2 separate regions of the Homo sapiens genome follow, and region 2 is linked to region 1. The links are contacts of gene promoters, found by promoter capture Hi-C in blood cells and fetal thymus (Javierre and others, 2016). All regions are on one chromosome and are shown on one strand. The core of a region is centred on a gene start or on the middle of the fragment in contact, and the rest is flanking DNA. Distances in the headings are between cores, read along the strand shown. Region 1 holds the start of PIP4K2C (phosphatidylinositol-5-phosphate 4-kinase type 2 gamma). Region 2 overlaps ARHGAP9 (Rho GTPase activating protein 9).

Region 1 (7,696 bases), core at 1,574-4,073:
AAACCATGAATAGGGAAGCCATGAAGAAGGGTGTGGAGAGCTACCCATACACTGTGTCTGGGCAGCAGTCATGCAAGGGCCACTCAGACCTCATTCCTTTAAAAACACTGGCTATGCATATGCTTGACAGAAGTGAGAGAATGTGTCTAACCCTTCTGCTGCCCAAGAAGGACTACAGTAAGCAACCCTCACACACAGCCCCCAACACGCCCACCCCCATGGAACTTCATGCTCACAACAGTCATTTTATATTAGGCTAACCCTGTAAGCAACTCAGGACTATTTTTAAAGCTGTGAGAAATTCTAGAAAAAAAAAAAAAAAAAAAAAAAAAAAAAAAACTCTGCAAGCTCAAGGCAGCTACATGTTCCATTAGAAAAAGAAAAAAAAAGGCATTTTAAAAATGCACAAGAGTGTTAATGGGATTCTGTGGGGCCAACCACAGCAAAAAGGATAAATGTCCATATCCTGCAAAAGGCATCTCTTTGCAAACAGGACCAGTCTTCCTAGACCACTCTGACCCAGTTGTTTGCAGTAGGCCCCCACCTGTCTAAGGTGTAAGGTAAAGGAAGAGCAGCTGATTTCAGAGCGAATGCAGGCAATCAGAGGATATGAGCTCATTAGGCGTCTGTTCCCTAAAGCCAAACTAATCCACAGCCCAAAGGACACAAGCATCACATGCTCTCCTCGGCCCCCAGGATCTGCAGTCTGCTAATTCAGGGTAGAAAGGGAGCTCTAGTACTTAAAAATCCTGAGCCGTGCTTTCTCCTTGGTGTTGCTACAGTACCTTTCACCTGCCTTTGTTACTGCATGACTCTAATCACTAGTTTATGTAAGTTCTCCCATCTAGATTGTGAGCTCTTCAAGAACAAGGGCTCATTCTAGTCGTCTGCATCTTTCAGGTGTCTAACTAGCACAATGTTTGGCACACAGTGATCCTGACATGTCTATTAATTGAATAAATGAATGCCTTGCCTATCCTTACTAGATCATTCCACAGAGGCTATGAACTGCAGTCTAACCTAAATCACACACACTGCAGTGCAACCAACTCCTCCCGTTCTCAGTAGAAAAGGAGGACAGAACATATCCCTCCAGATTAAAAAAAAAAAAAAAGCCACTTGAGACTCCCAGCCTAAAATTCAGCTATAGCTCCTCCTGCCCCCTCCTCCCCACCTGCTAAGCAAGCTGAATCATCACTAAGACATATGTTCAAGGAATTTCTCCATTCCAAACACTTGAAGTAGATGTGTGTTGGCAGAGGGTGGGGTGCTGGGGCTAAAGTATATATACCTAGTGAAGCTGAGGTAGGTCTTACATGTAACTCCCCCAATCCTTAACAAGGGAAAACCCTCCCTGTTAAGCATCCCACAGGGAATGGATGAATCACCTGGAAGGTACATATGAGAGGCAGCCCTACCTCCATCAGCCTTCCCCATACCAAGTGCCTTCCACTGAATACTCACTAAGAGCTTACCACCCAGAGAGCCACAAATCCAAAAGAGATCCGACTGGCCACAAACAACATTCTTAATTTTTGGTTAAGAAATTCTTTACCACAAATTAAAAATGTGACAAAACGCGTATTCTTCCTCACAACTTCCATCTCCACAGCCTAGCCATGACTATATTCAAGAACGCTGATTTCGAAAATATTCCGTGTCACATTCAAGATAACTGCATTTCTCCCACTCCAGACCTGACGGAAGATGGGCAATGGCTGTGCTTCTTTCAGCTGAGGTATCCTCAGGAAAGGGGATGGAGGTCTCCTTGGCCTCCTCCTGACTCCCAGAGCAGTTTCCTGCTTCAAAAGTTCACCACCATAGTGACCTCAGGAACAGAGCCCCTCAGCCTTCTCTTTGGTCAACAATCGCCACCACCTACACCAAACACGATCGCTCTAGCCAGCGATAAGGATGCAGTTAAGACCAAAGGCATATATACATAAGTCCTGAGAGTGTGCAACTTCTAGCTCAGGGTGGGGTAGCTTCTCTAAAATGCTGTACCTCTGGAAGGGAAAGGAAGGGACAAGCAGGATTAGAAAGCCCAGGAAACCTGGAGCTTCCCCGAGACAAAACCAAGATTCAAAAGCCAAGGACCGGGGCTGGGAAGCAAGGTGGAAAGCAAAGTGAAAGAACCTTTTCATCCATCTACTCCCCTCGGCCCCTCACCCTCCACCTACACTCTCACCAACAACCACCCGAGAAAAAGCCACTCCCCCTAATGTCCTCCCCGCTTGCGCCCGGTCCTGGCCAGTCCGCGTAGCCTGAGGCTGAAGCTAGACATGGCAGGAAGGAGTCAAAGCACAGGGAGCTGGATTTCACGGGGGGAAGGTGGAACTAGAGTGGAGCAGTAAAGAACTGTTGGGGAGAAAAAAGTCCACAGTCAGAAAACCTGCTGGGGGAACACCTGGGGTTGGTGGGCAGGGACCAAGACAACCCGGGGGAGGGGAGTGGCACTGCGTGGGGCTCCGGAGGCTGGAGCCTGGAAACAGGGACGCCTCGGAGCCGAGGGGTTTGGACAGGGCTGCGGGGGTCTAGGGCTGGTTCTCACCGAGTGGGCTACGCCCCACAGGAACACACCCACCAGCGGGTCGGCCGCCCGGAACACCTTCACCTTCTGCTGCACGAAATGCTTCTTCTTGGTCTTGGAGGCGAAGCCGAAACCTGGGCCGGGGCCTGCTGTCGCCGCCGATACCGTGGCTGGTGGGACCGAGGAGGACGCCATAGTCTCCCGCGCAACCGACCAAGTGGAAGCCGGAGCCGGCAGCTATCCAGGCGCCCGACCCCGGAAGCGGCGCTCACCTGCGCTGCTGTCACGTGACCGGAGGCCGGACAGCGGACGCGCGAACAGGGCGAGGCAGGACGGGGCGGGGCGACGCTGGCCCCGCCCCCCGGCGCCTGCCTGCCTGCCCCAATGTCCGCTCAGTGTGTGGGCTCACCTGGCGTGCGGGATCCCTGTAAGCTGACGAAGCAAGCGGCCCGCGAGGCCCCTCGAACTGTCAACTAGGAGACCGTGGTGCGGCCTGGGCTGGCCTGATTGACTCCCAAGGTCTAGGGCTTCTTTGCTGCAAAGTGGCCGCCTTCCGGCTTTGCCCAGTTTCTAATGAGTAACCTCGGACCTGATGCTAATGCGAAAGCATTCTTACCGAATGGGGGTTGGGAAGGGGAGGGTTTTGGAAACCCAAAATTCTTACCAGTGGTCTCAAGCGTCTTGAAATTCATTCATTCATTTAACAAGTATTTATTGTGCACTTAGTTGTACTAGGTCCTGTTCTAGGGGCTGATTTTCCTTTTATTGAAGCAGGGTATAGGACAGTGACTGCCCCGAAGTAGTTGGGAGTCTAATGGCACTGGCTGGCCAATGGAGATCAAGTTTGCAGTATGCAAAGTATGAGCTATCCTAGAACTGTGTATGAAGCAAAGACAATGATACAAAGAAAGGAAGTGTAGCTGGTCAGGGAAGGCTTCAAAGAGGATAGAGACTTTACTGAGTTTGGAAGGGTGGGTGGAGTTCAGGAATAGAGGTTAAAAGGCTGTCTAGACAAAGAGAACAGCATACAAAGACATGGAGACAAGAAAGAACGAAGCCGGGCGCGGTGACTCACGCCTGTAATCCCAGCACTTTGGGAGGCCGAGGCGGGAGGATCACCTGAGGTTGGGAGTTCAAGACCAGCCTGGCCAACATGGTGAAACCTCGTCTCTACAAAAATACAAAAATTAGCCGGGCATTAGCCGGGCGTGGTGGCGTGAGCCTGTAATCCCAGCTACTCAGGAGGCTGAGGCAGGAGAATCACTTGAACCCAGGAGGCGGAGGTAGCAGTGAGCCGAGATCACGCCAAGCAGAGATCACGCCAAGCAGAGATCACGCCACTGCACTCCAGCCTGGGTGACAGAGTGAGACTCCATCTCAAAAAAAAAAAAAAAAAAGCCGGGCATGTTGGCAGGTGCCTGTAGTCCCAGCTACTTGAGAGGCTGAGGCAGGAGAATCGCTTGAACCCAGGAGGCAGAGGTTGCAGTGAGCCCAGATCATGCCATTGCACTCCAGCCTGGGCGACAGAGCAAGACTCTGTCTCAAAAAAAAAAAAAAAAAAAAAAAGCCAGATGCGGTAGCTCACGCCTATAATCCCAGCACTTTGCGGGGCCGAGTCGGGAGGATCACCTGAGGTCAGGAGTTGTGGGCAAAGGATTACCCAGGTGCCAAGGCAAGAGACTGAAGGCACAAACTGTTGCAGTATAATAAAGAAAATAGTTAGAATAAAGAGTAGTTACAATACAAATTAGATATAGAGATGATCATGGACAATTATCAATCATCAGTATAAACATTATAAATCATTAGCTTTTAATATTACTCTTTGTGGCATTACTAATATAACCTAGGAATAACCGGCAGGTATAGGGTCAGGTGCTGAAGGGACATTGTGAGAAGTGACCTAGAAGGCAAGAAGTGAGCCCTCTGTCACGCCCGCATAAGGGCCATTTGAGGGCTCCCTGGTCAAGCGGTAACACCAGTGCCTGGGAAGGCACCTGTTGCTTAGCGGACCGCGAAAGGGAGTCTCCCTTTCCGTGGAGGAGTCAGGGAACACTCTGCTCCACCAGCTTCTTGTGGGAGGCTGGATATTATCTAGGCCTGCCTGCAGTCATCCAGAGGCCTAAACCCCTCCCTTTGGTGCTGTGCTTCAGTGGTCACGCTCCTTGTCCACTTTCATGTTCCTCCTGTACTCCTGGTTCCTCTTTGAAGTTCTTAGTAGATAGCGGTAGAAGAAATAGTGAAAATCTTAGTCTTTGATCTTTCTTATAAGTGCATAGAAGAAAATGCTGACGTATGCTGCCTTCCCTCTCTGCTTTGGCTACCTAAAAGGGAAGGGACCCCTATCCCATGATCACGTGATTTGCTTGACCTTATCAATCACTTGGACAACTCACCCCTCCTTACCCTGCCCCTTGTCTTGTATTCAATAAATACCAGTGCGCCTAGCCATTAGGGGCCACTATCGGTCTCCGCGTCTTGGTGGCAGTGGTCCCCAGGCCTAGCTGTTTTCTCTTTATCTCTTTGTCTTGTGTCTTTATTTCTTACAATCTCTCGTCTCCGCACACAGGGAGAACACCCGCTAAGCCCAGTAGGTCTGGACCCTACAAGGAGTTCGAGACCAGCTTGACCAACATGGTGAAACCCCATCTCAACTAAAAATACAAAATTTAGCCGGGCGTGGTGGCGCACACCTGTAATCCCAGCTACTCAGGAGGCTGAGGCAGGAGAATCGCTTGAACTGGGGGAGGGGGGGTGCCAAGGTTGCAGTGAGCCGAGATCCTGCCACTGCACTCCAGCGTGGGCAACAGAGCAAGACTCCATCTCAAAAAAAAAAAAAAAAGGATCACTCAGGCATGTTCCTGGAGGATGACTTGAGTATTGCAAAAGTTCAGGGAGAGATAATGAACTAAAGCAGTGGCTGTTGTGTTTGAAAGAAGAGGGTGGCATCTAAAGATGCAGTTTGATGTCAACTTGGAAAATTCATATGAATGTGGGGATTGAAGGAAAAGGGAGGCATTGAGAGTGAGTCTAAGGCTTCTGGCTAATGATGATGATGATATCAGAGAGATGATGGTGACATGAAAAGGAGCAGATTCAGAGGAAGGTGAGTTCGGTTTGGAACATGTTTGAGGCATCTGAGGTCAGCTGGACACATGCTCCCGCAGCTGAGCAGAATGTTCTGGACTGGGGATACGGATTGAAGAATTGTGGAATCTGCAGGCATGGATGACATGTCTTAGAAAGAGCAAGGAAGGAACCAAGGGCTGAGCCCTGGGATAGAGCAGCATTTAAGAGGCCTGGGGAGGAAGACTCGGAAGGGTGGCCAGGGAAGTACAGGGAGCCAAGACAGCAGGGTCACAAAAGCCAAGGGGAGTTGAGTTTCAAGAAGGAAGGAGTGAAGAAGTATATGTCATGGAGAGGTGAAGCAAAACAAGGACTGTTGTCCAGAAGAAATGTCCACTGTATTTGGTAACTAATGCCATTTGGAAAAGCAGTTTTGAGCAGAACAAGAGGCAGATCAAGGTGGGCTAAGGAATGAATAGGGGGTGAGGAAGTGGGGATGGGAAGCTTGGGATGGTTTCTGGATATCTGACTTTAAGAAAACAAGTAAGATAGAGAAACACACAGTTAGAGAAACACACAGTAAAGGGAGGGACTCTTATGGGAAGGACCTTACAAGGAGATGAGACCACTGAGACAGGCATTAATAAAGAAGATGCACCGAGGCGGGCGGATCACTTGAGGCCAGGAGTTTGAGACAAGCCTGGCCAACATGGTGAAAACCCATCTCCATTAAAAATGCAAAAATTAGCCGGGCATGGTGGTGTGCACATGTAGTCCCAGATACTCAGGAGGCTGAAGCAGGAGAATTGCTTGAACCTGAGAGGCGGAGGTTGCTGTGAGCCGAGATTGTGCCGCTGCACTCCAGCCTGGGCAACAGAGCGAGACTCTGTTTTAAAAAAAAAAAAAAGATGCAAACTCCTCAAGTCTCCATCAGTTTATCAGTTTTAGATATGTTATATATTTGTATATTGAGATTCTATATCAGTATCTCAAGAATGAAATATCTAGAAGGGATTCACTTTAGCCCAGAGAAAGGAGATTTATCACTGGTCAGAAGGGAGAAGGAAAGGATAAGTGCAGACACAGATAGGTAATTGTGTAGGTGCATGTGGGCAGGGGGCAAGATAAAAGAATTTCAGGCTCAAGTGCCTTAGATGACAAAGTTGTTGCCTGACAGAGGAGGGTGGAAAGGGTGTAGACCCTTGCTCTGGGAGATAGGAGAGGAAAGTGAGAAGCACCGAAAGTCCGGGCAGGTTTGTAGGCTCTTCAGTTTTACTTGCCCCAGTTTTTTGGGTGTGCAGTTTTCTCCATCTGAGAAGCTTTGAGATATGAGCAGAGAAGAGAGGTGGAGTATGCTTTAAAATGGGGGTTGGAAGGGTGATTGTAGTGGATGATCCTGGGACAGGAATATTGATCTGTTGGCTGTGGAGAGATGGTGAAACACTGGAGTGGGAAGGAATTGATGCCAGGACTGAGACTGCTCTGGGTCAAAAATGAAAGAACAAGATAGTGCTTTTGGTAAAAATTACAAACAGTATAGATATCCACCAGTCGTAGACTGGTTGAATGAACTGTAGGATAAATATGTGAAAAATTATATTTTAATGAGGTCAATTGATATATATTGACATACAAAGATCTCCAGGATATATTGTCAAGTAGGAAAAAAATCAAGCCTTATGTAAATCTATAGAAAAACATCTGGAAGGATATATTCTATCAAGTTCCATTTCATCCAAAGAAGGCAGTGAGATTGGGAAGGGATAAAGAATATTTACAACAACATAGAGTTATCATTGAATTTATTTTATTTTAAAGTTATCTATGTACACCAAGTAAATACACACAGGGGGTTGCGCAGTTTGGTTTGTCTTCCACGCTGGCATGCAACATTTTGGCAGATGTGAGTGGGCAGGCCAGGTGCCCCTTGCAGTGACCCTGGCTCTGAAAGGGATGCGGTGAAGGTGGGGAGCAGGAGGAGGAGGAGGATGTAGTGTGAAGCTTCTGGTGAAGGGTTTGCGTGTGTGTTGTTTCTTTTTTATGTAAGTGAATTATATTTCCCTTACATCTTGCTAAAGAGAAGGCTGCTCCCTCTGTGTC
Region 2 (7,696 bases), core at 629-3,128, 120 kb after region 1:
GAAGCCTCCCACCTCCTCACAGCCCACCGGGGAGAGGGAAGCAGTGAAGGAAACAACACCGTGGCCTCAGTTTCCTCCCTCATTGTCAGGGACCAGCGGGTAGCCGGCCCGAAAGTAGCGTGGACCTGCGCGGGGCGGCCCTGGCGCACGGCCGCCACCTGTCCAGCCGCCGCAACGTCCTGCACGTGAGCGCCCTCCCGCGCGTCCCCAAGGCCCCACCCGACCCGAGGGCGCCCCCAATCTCCCGCGCAGGCCTCCCGCTAGGTCTCCCTGCTTATTATACTCCTTCCCGTTGACCCGAGCGTTTCCTTGCCTGGCCCTCAGATCCGCACGATCCCTGGCCACGAGTTCCTGCTGCAGTCGGACCACGAGACAGAGCTGCGAGCCTGGCACCGCGCGCTGCGGACTGTCATCGAGCGGCTGGTTAGATGGGTGGAGGCCCGGAGGGAGGCTCCGACCGGCCGGGACCAAGGGAGTGGGGTAGGAACGATAGGAGTCAGGAGCAGTTGGGGGCAGGGTGGGCTCAGTGGAGAGCCCTTGCCTGGGCCGGGATGTGGGACCCCGGCAGTGGGTCAGAGTCCAGCTAGGGATACAGATTTCTCTCCTCTCTCACCTTCGACACGGCCCGCCCCGGGTCTAGGATCGGGAGAACCCCCTGGAGCTGCGTCTGTCGGGCTCTGGACCCGCGGAGCTGAGCGCCGGGGAGGACGAAGAAGAGGAGTCGGAGCTGGTGTCCAAGCCGCTGCTGCGCCTCAGCAGCCGCCGGAGCTCCAGTGAGGCGCGGGCTGGGGAGGGAGAGTCCGGGAGCGCAGCGAGGCTCCCGGGCGCTCACGCCCCGCTCTACCTGCCTCCTGCAGTTCGGGGGCCCGAAGGCACCGAGCAGAACCGCGTGCGCAACAAACTAAAGCGGCTCATCGCGAAGAGACCGCCCTTACAAAGCCTGCAGGAGCGGGGTCTGCTCCGAGGTGAGGGGGCTGGGCCAGGTTCATGGATAAGAAAACTCCAGCGAGGCTCAGAGTAGAGCTTCCCAGAACTAGACCACAACCTTCTGTGACTGCTGCTTTCCCACTACCCCAGATTGTTTAGGGGAGAAGCTGGGGTGACCTGTACCCCTTTGCCAGATTGTTTGAAGCAGGGGAAGGGAGGTGGAGTGTATTTCCTTGCCCAGGCCTGGCACAGGCAGCCAGGAGGACCAGCCTCACTTAAGGATAAAGACCTATGCTGAGAAGAGCTCCTGTGAGTGACGCTGGCACTGGCTTCCCGCCTCACTCTACTTCCCCAGACCAGGTGTTCGGCTGCCAGTTGGAATCACTCTGCCAGCGGGAAGGAGACACGGTGCCCAGCTTTTTGCGGCTCTGCATTGCTGCTGTGGATAAAAGAGGTCATTTTCTCAGAGACCCCAGAATCCTCTTCCAACAGGCTAAGGCCTAGAATTTTCTGCCTCCCCCATTCTACCTAGTCTTCCTACTGCCCTTTTTCTCTCCACCCTTATATCCCTCACCACACACACTTTCAAGCAGCAGTCCTTATCTACTCCTTCCTCATCTCCCAGGTCTAGATGTGGATGGCATTTATCGGGTGAGCGGGAACTTGGCAGTGGTCCAGAAGCTTCGCTTTCTGGTGGACAGAGGTGAGAAGGCTTGTGGGCCAGTGGTTGTACTAAGAATGTCTTGCCTGAGAACCATGGGCGGTCCTACATGAGGAAGCTGGCAGAATAGAGAGGCCGTCAGGCTGGAAGTGTATGTCTTAGCTCCTGATCTCTCCTCATTCATGTTGCAGAGCGTGCGGTCACCTCCGATGGGAGGTATGTGTTCCCAGAACAGCCAGGACAAGGTACTTACATGGAAGACCCTTCAGATCCCTAAAACTTCCACATATCCTCTTTGCTTCCCGTGGAAACCCCCATGTACTATTCCTGGGAGGGTTGTCCTCATCCCCACCTTAGCTACCTTGCCCCACTGCAGACCCTCTAGGCATTCCTATAGTCTGCTTTGACTGGATTTCTCCAGAACTTCTAATCTCTCAGTCTCTAAATCTTTCTGGCCCTTCATGAGCCCCTATACCTCCTTCTCCCTCCAGAAGGTCGGTTAGATTTGGACAGTACTGAGTGGGATGACATTCATGTGGTCACCGGAGCCCTGAAGCTTTTTCTCCGGGAGCTGCCCCAGCCTCTGGTGCCACCACTGCTGCTGCCCCATTTCCGTGCTGCCCTTGGTAAGGGTTGGAGCTTTGGAAAGAACCCTTGATGTGGGGGACACGGGTGGTAAATAATAGAATAGAGGTTCCCTTATACTCTTCTTTCCCATTCTGACTTTAGAGATGGAAAATAATGTTCAACTCAGGTGCCTACTCCAGTTGCTTTTTTGTGAATGTTTAGAGGGCTGAATTGAAAAGAATTATGAGGCTATAGTTGGGCTATGTGAAAAAGAAAGCTGTGCTAGATTAATGATGTCTTCCATGCCTGTGGGAAAGAGCAGTGCATTTACCCATCCTGTCCTAGCACCTTCCCTAACCTTACTACCATGCCTTTCCCATCACTCTCTCTAGCACTCTCCGAATCAGAGCAGTGCCTCTCTCAGATACAAGAATTAATAGGCTCAATGCCAAAGCCCAACCATGACACTCTACGGTACCTCCTGGAGCATTTATGCAGGTCAGGAAGACAGAACCTCTTTGTTCATGCTGGGGAAAGGTGGAGTGGGGAATGCCACAGGGACTCTGTGCAGGTGGAGTGAAGGTAGGGAAGCACCTAAGTTTAATGGGCAGGTGAGGAAGCAGGCAACCTCTGTGCAGGAGCATATTACCAGAGTCAAAACCTTTATTTTTTTATTTTATTTATTTTTGAGACAGAGTCTCGCTCTGTCACCCAGACTGGAGTGCAGTGGCGCAATTTCAGCTCACTGCAACCTCTGCCTCCCGGGTTCAAGTAATTCTCCTGCCTCAGCCTCCTGAGTAACTGGGATTACAGGTGCCCGCCACCACGCCTGGCTAATTTTTGTATTTTTAGTAGAGACGGGGTTTCACCATGTTGGCCAGGCTGGTCTCGAACTCCTGACCTCAGGTGATTTACCCACCTCAGCCTCCCAAAGTGCTGGGATTACACCGTGCCCGTCAAAGACTTTAGGTCAAAACCTAAAGGTCAGCATCAAGTGGGGAAATGGAACCAAGATGCTGTGAAAGGAATAAGGGAAATCTTACTTCTCCCTTCCCTCTGCCTCTTTGTCTCCCATTGGGACATTGCTGATGGCTTCTTTGGTTGAACTGGGCCTGGGCAGTGACTTCTGAGAGAGGATGGCCACTTGAATTAAAGACTCCCAAACTGTGAGCAGGCAGAACTCTTGGGGCAGCCCCTGAAGTCGGAAGAGGCAGTTATATCTTCAGGTTGTATCCTGAAGGTTTCTCCACTGGTCCATCTCCATTCTCCTTGTATCTCCTTGGTTTTTTTGTTACCATGTGGAGGAATCCCAGAGTGAACTCTTCCCTGCTCAGAACTTTGAAGGGTTAGTTAGATTGCTATGAAGTGGCAAGCTGCTGCCATATATCCCCTTCCTTGGCCTTTGCTTACAGGGTGATAGCACACTCAGATAAGAATCGCATGACACCCCACAACCTGGGAATTGTGTTTGGACCAACCCTGTTTCGGCCAGAGCAGGAGACATCTGACCCAGCAGCCCATGCTCTCTACCCAGGGCAGCTGGTCCAGCTGATGCTCACCAACTTCACCAGCCTCTTCCCCTGATGCAGGGAAGGAAGAAGAGAAAACATATTTCCGGTCATCTCTGGTGGTGAGAGGCTGGTGTTCTGTTTTGAGGATATCCCTTTAAATCTCCCAAATGACTGTCTCTATCTTCATGAGTGTGACTTGAGGTGTTGGGATGGGTGAGGGAGCTTCTCTAAAGAGGAAAGTGAGTGGATTAACCCCTGCTTCTCTTCTTGTTCCCTGTTATCATTCCTCCCCAACATAATAATACATAAAGTGGCATGGTATTTTTTCTGATGCAGTTCCTTTATTATCAGGAAACAGTGTCATTATCAAATTTCTCCTCAAAACGTATACAGACTATACATAGCCCCCAGCCCATACCTCCCATCCCTGGGGCATCTTGTGCATGGGACTGCAGCTCCCCCAATTTTTCTGGAAGGATAGAAACCCCTTAGGAAATGCGATCTGTGATGGATGAGATTCCCTACTCTTTAGGCACTAGAGTTGAGGAATTCTGTTTCCCCAGGTAGGGATCTCAGTAAGACACTCATGTTGCCCACAGCCATGTTGGGGGGCCCAGAGGGAGGTGGGGTATGTCCAGAGCTGCCCCGCTGATCATGGGAAGGAGGAGGACTCAGCCCCTGGGGCTCATCCAGAATAGCCACAAAGTCCAGCTGAGTGTTGTCAAGATCAAGAGAGTCCAGGGGGTTACATACCTGTCCTTCGGGAGGAGGGTACAAGGCAGGACCCCCTCCTAGCCTGCCCACCTCAGGATGACCACAGCTGGGGTTTGTGCCTCCCACTTTGAGAGGCCCATAGCAAGTGGGCAATGGGGGCAGAAGTCGAGGTGGTGCTGCTGCCCTATGTGAAGCCCTATTTGCCCCCACTACAAAATTTTCATGGCATGGTGAAGGGGTGGGATAGGAACCTGACTTGTGATTGGGCAAGTTGGGTCCAAAGCCAGGTCCATATGTGTTCACTGGAGCTTTAGCACGGCTTGGGCTAACCTGGGAACCCCCCAGAAACTTGGGACTCTGGTAGGAAGGTTCCTGGGCGGGGGCATCTTCCCTGCCCCCACCCTCCCACAGTAGCTCCTGTTGAGATTGAACATAATTACACACAAGCTGAGCCTTGAGCTGCCCTGTGGAATGGGTGGGGGAATCAAAGTCCAGGCAAGGCCTGGGTTCTGAAGGAAGATAATCAGGGGGTGGCTGGGTATAGGGGCCTGACTGGAGATATTGGGGAGGAGAGGGCTGGGGGTAATGGGAAAAGAGAGGCTGTGGATGTGGGGGCCCCTCACTGGGGTGGGCATTGAGGCAGGGTGCCAGTCCTGTGGAGTCAGACCCCACTGGGCACCCCTGTTCTGGCTTGACTTGCACTTGTCCATAATGTTCAAGTCGAGGACACTGGCTGTAGGTTCCACCTAGAGCCTTGGGGCCTGGGTACAGCCCAGAGTGGGAAGGGAACTCACCCCATGTTTCTTGGGTGGGGTCAGGATATGAGGCCTGCTGGGGACAGGGGTTGGGGCCATAGTTGGTGGGTGGACCAGGCCCAAGAGGCAGAGAGCCTGGACCCCTCGCTCCATAAGGCTCAGCTGCTGCCCCTTCAGGTCCCCCATATCCCAGAGTATCAGTAGGTGGGAAGTCCATATAGGGGTTCAGACCACTGCCCACCATGGAGGTCCCAACTTCTGGCTCTTCCTGTAGCCCTCTAGCATCCATGGCAGCATTCTCAGTGATGCTGGGGGGCTGTGGTGAGTAGACAGAGGTTGGGAGGTAAGGATCAAAGTTCTGTCCTCCCCCTGCCACAGTGGGTGGGGTATGGACACAGCCCAGGCTCTTGAACCTCTGGACTCTAGCTGGAGCAGGACGGTCAGCAGCCTGGGCTGGGTCACTGGCCCTCCGGGTGACCCCTGCATTGGGGTTGTATCCTGGATACTCGGCTCGGCTTCTCCAAGGAGGCATGGGAAGACCACCTATCCGATCCAGGCTGGATGCTGCAGTGGGCGAAGTACCACCCCCTCTGGCTGAAGCATATCTTGCCCGAAGCAGGTAGTGCTGGGCAGGCATAAGGCCAGGCAGGGAGGATGCTCCATTCTCTGGTGGGGAGCCAGGGGGGAAAGGAGAGGCCAGGGAGGAGCGGCGGCTGACAGTATAGGCAGAGCTGATGCTGCTGGAGCTGCTGCTGCGGCGTTCAAGAGAGACTGGGGGGCCCACGCGGCGGGACACAGTGGTACCTGCAAGTGATGGGGAGAAAAGGTAGGATGGTCAAGGAGCTTCCTAAATTTCACCCTGCCTCCTCCATGCAACAGCCTTGCCCTGGATTCTCAGGGGTAAGCTCGTTATCCCTAACCAGTCTGTTCTGTCTCCTACTTCTCCCATGCCTATTCTGTTTCTGGGTTACCAAGGATTCAGGGTTGCTATGAACAGTTGTGCAGGTTGTGTGCTGCACAATCCTAGGGAACAGCATTCGCATCATAGCCTTTGCATACTTGTTTGTTTGTTTGTTTTGTTTTGTTTTGTTTGAAACAGAGTTTCGCTCTTGTTGCTCAAGTTGGAGTGCAATGGCGCAATCTCAGCTCACTGCAACCTCTGCCTCCCAGGTTCAAGCAATTCTCCTGCTTCAGCTTCCTGAGTAGCTGGGATTACAGGTGCCCACCACCATGCCTGGCTAGCCTTTGCATGTTTGTACATCACAACTATTTTCTGATAAATGGAAAGTGTCTTGAGGAAGGACACCATTTTCTAATTATACAAAAGTGCTGTGTGACAGCCCTCAAGGGTGACTTCCTCCTCTCAACCTCAGGGCAGGTCCAGATCTCACCCCAGCCACACCTCCCACACCCAGGTCTCACCGGTGTGGGACAAGCTGGGCAGTTTGAGACCCCGGGTCCCTATTGGCCGGAGTTGATGTAGCTGGTCCAGCCTGAGGTTCTCAAGGCGGCGAAGAGTGGACAGACCAGTGCCAGCAATGCAAGGTCCCTCGTCCAAGCTGGAGAGGTCTTCAGTGCTGCCCCCTGCATTGCCAGTCATTTCCACACCACTGTCTGTATTGGCTGCACTCCCTGCCGGGGAGTGGTCACTGCTGCAGGATGACTGGGCCCCAGGGCTTGGCTGTGGCTTCTGTGGAGAAGATGAGGTCTGAGGGCAACACCCTTCCCCACAGCTCCTTCAACTTGATGAGTGGCTGAAGCCTGTGTCCCAGTGACTGCTGGGGTTCCAAGGAAGCTTGTAAGTGTAGAAAGGGCTAAGCAGGTAAGAGATGGGGGAGCAAACTGAATGTGAGACGTTTGATGAGAAGAACCTAGGCTGGAGCACGGACTGGCTGGACTCAAATTCTTGCTCTTAGTTCTATGACCTTGGGCTATTTCTCTATGCCTGAGTTTCTTCAACTGAAAATGGGAACAGTGAGTCCCTTTATCATGAAGTTGCTGTGAGGAGTACATGAAATTATACATGTAAAAGGCTTGGAACATATACTAAGTGCTATTTAAGAAAGAGTTGCCGGGTGCAGTGGCTCACGCCTGTAATCCCAGCACTTTGGGAGGCCGAGGTGGGCAGATCACGAGGTCAGGAGATCAAGACCACCCTGGTTAACACAGTGAAACCCCATGTCTACTAAAAATACAAAAAAATTAGCCCGGCGTGGTGGCAGGCGCCTGTAGTCCCAGCTACTCAGGAGGCTGAGGCAGAATGGCGTGAACCTGGGAGGCGGAGGTTGCAGTGAGCCGAGATCATGCCACTGCACTCCAGCCTGGGCAACAGAGCGAGACTCCGTCTGAAAAAAAAAGAAAGAGTTTGGGTTGGATGCATTGGCTCATCCCAGCACTGTGGGAAGCTGAGGTGGGAGGATCGCTCAAGGCCAGGAGTTTGAGACCAGCCTGGTCAACATAGCAAGACTCGATCTCTAAAAAGAAGAAAAATTAGCCAGGCATGATGGGGTGTGCCTGTAGTGATCACTTGAGCCCAGAAGTTTGAGGCTGCAGTGAGCTAT

The links. The method cuts DNA at HindIII sites, captures the fragments that hold promoters and counts their contacts. A CHiCAGO score of 5 or more calls a contact.
Region 2: a contact is called between a fragment that was not itself captured here and the fragment with the promoter of PIP4K2C in region 1, in 11 of 17 cell types (naive CD8 T cells, total CD8 T cells, neutrophils and 8 more). The highest score is 9.9, in naive CD8 T cells.

Annotation. Positions count from the first base shown.
Region 1 is chr12:57,586,319-57,594,014 of GRCh38, reverse strand. PIP4K2C (phosphatidylinositol-5-phosphate 4-kinase type 2 gamma) reads right to left here and starts at 2,823. Exons shown (of 10, transcript NM_024779.5): 1 at 2,552-2,823. The coding sequence starts at 2,725. It overlaps KIF5A (kinesin family member 5A), which reads right to left. Exons shown (of 29, transcript NM_004984.4): 29 at 7,382-7,696. RefSeq lists a silencer at 2,726-2,985 and enhancers at 2,584-3,085, 3,166-3,215. The HindIII fragment of the contact is 11,010 bases long and covers 1-6,102 here.
Region 2 is chr12:57,468,560-57,476,255 of GRCh38, reverse strand. ARHGAP9 (Rho GTPase activating protein 9) reads left to right here. Exons shown (of 18, transcript NM_032496.4): 9 at 90-185; 10 at 325-423; 11 at 641-773; 12 at 858-965; 13 at 1,283-1,381; 14 at 1,553-1,630; 15 at 1,780-1,833; 16 at 2,080-2,214; 17 at 2,548-2,653; 18 at 3,568-3,987. The coding sequence ends at 3,739. GLI1 (GLI family zinc finger 1) reads right to left here. Exons shown (of 12, transcript NM_005269.3): 11 at 6,558-6,825; 12 at 3,988-5,939. The coding sequence ends at 4,195. Among named protein-coding and RNA genes, the nearest start is that of ARHGAP9, 7.5 kb to the left of the region's middle. RefSeq lists an enhancer at 1-355. The HindIII fragment of the contact is 536 bases long and covers 1,611-2,146 here.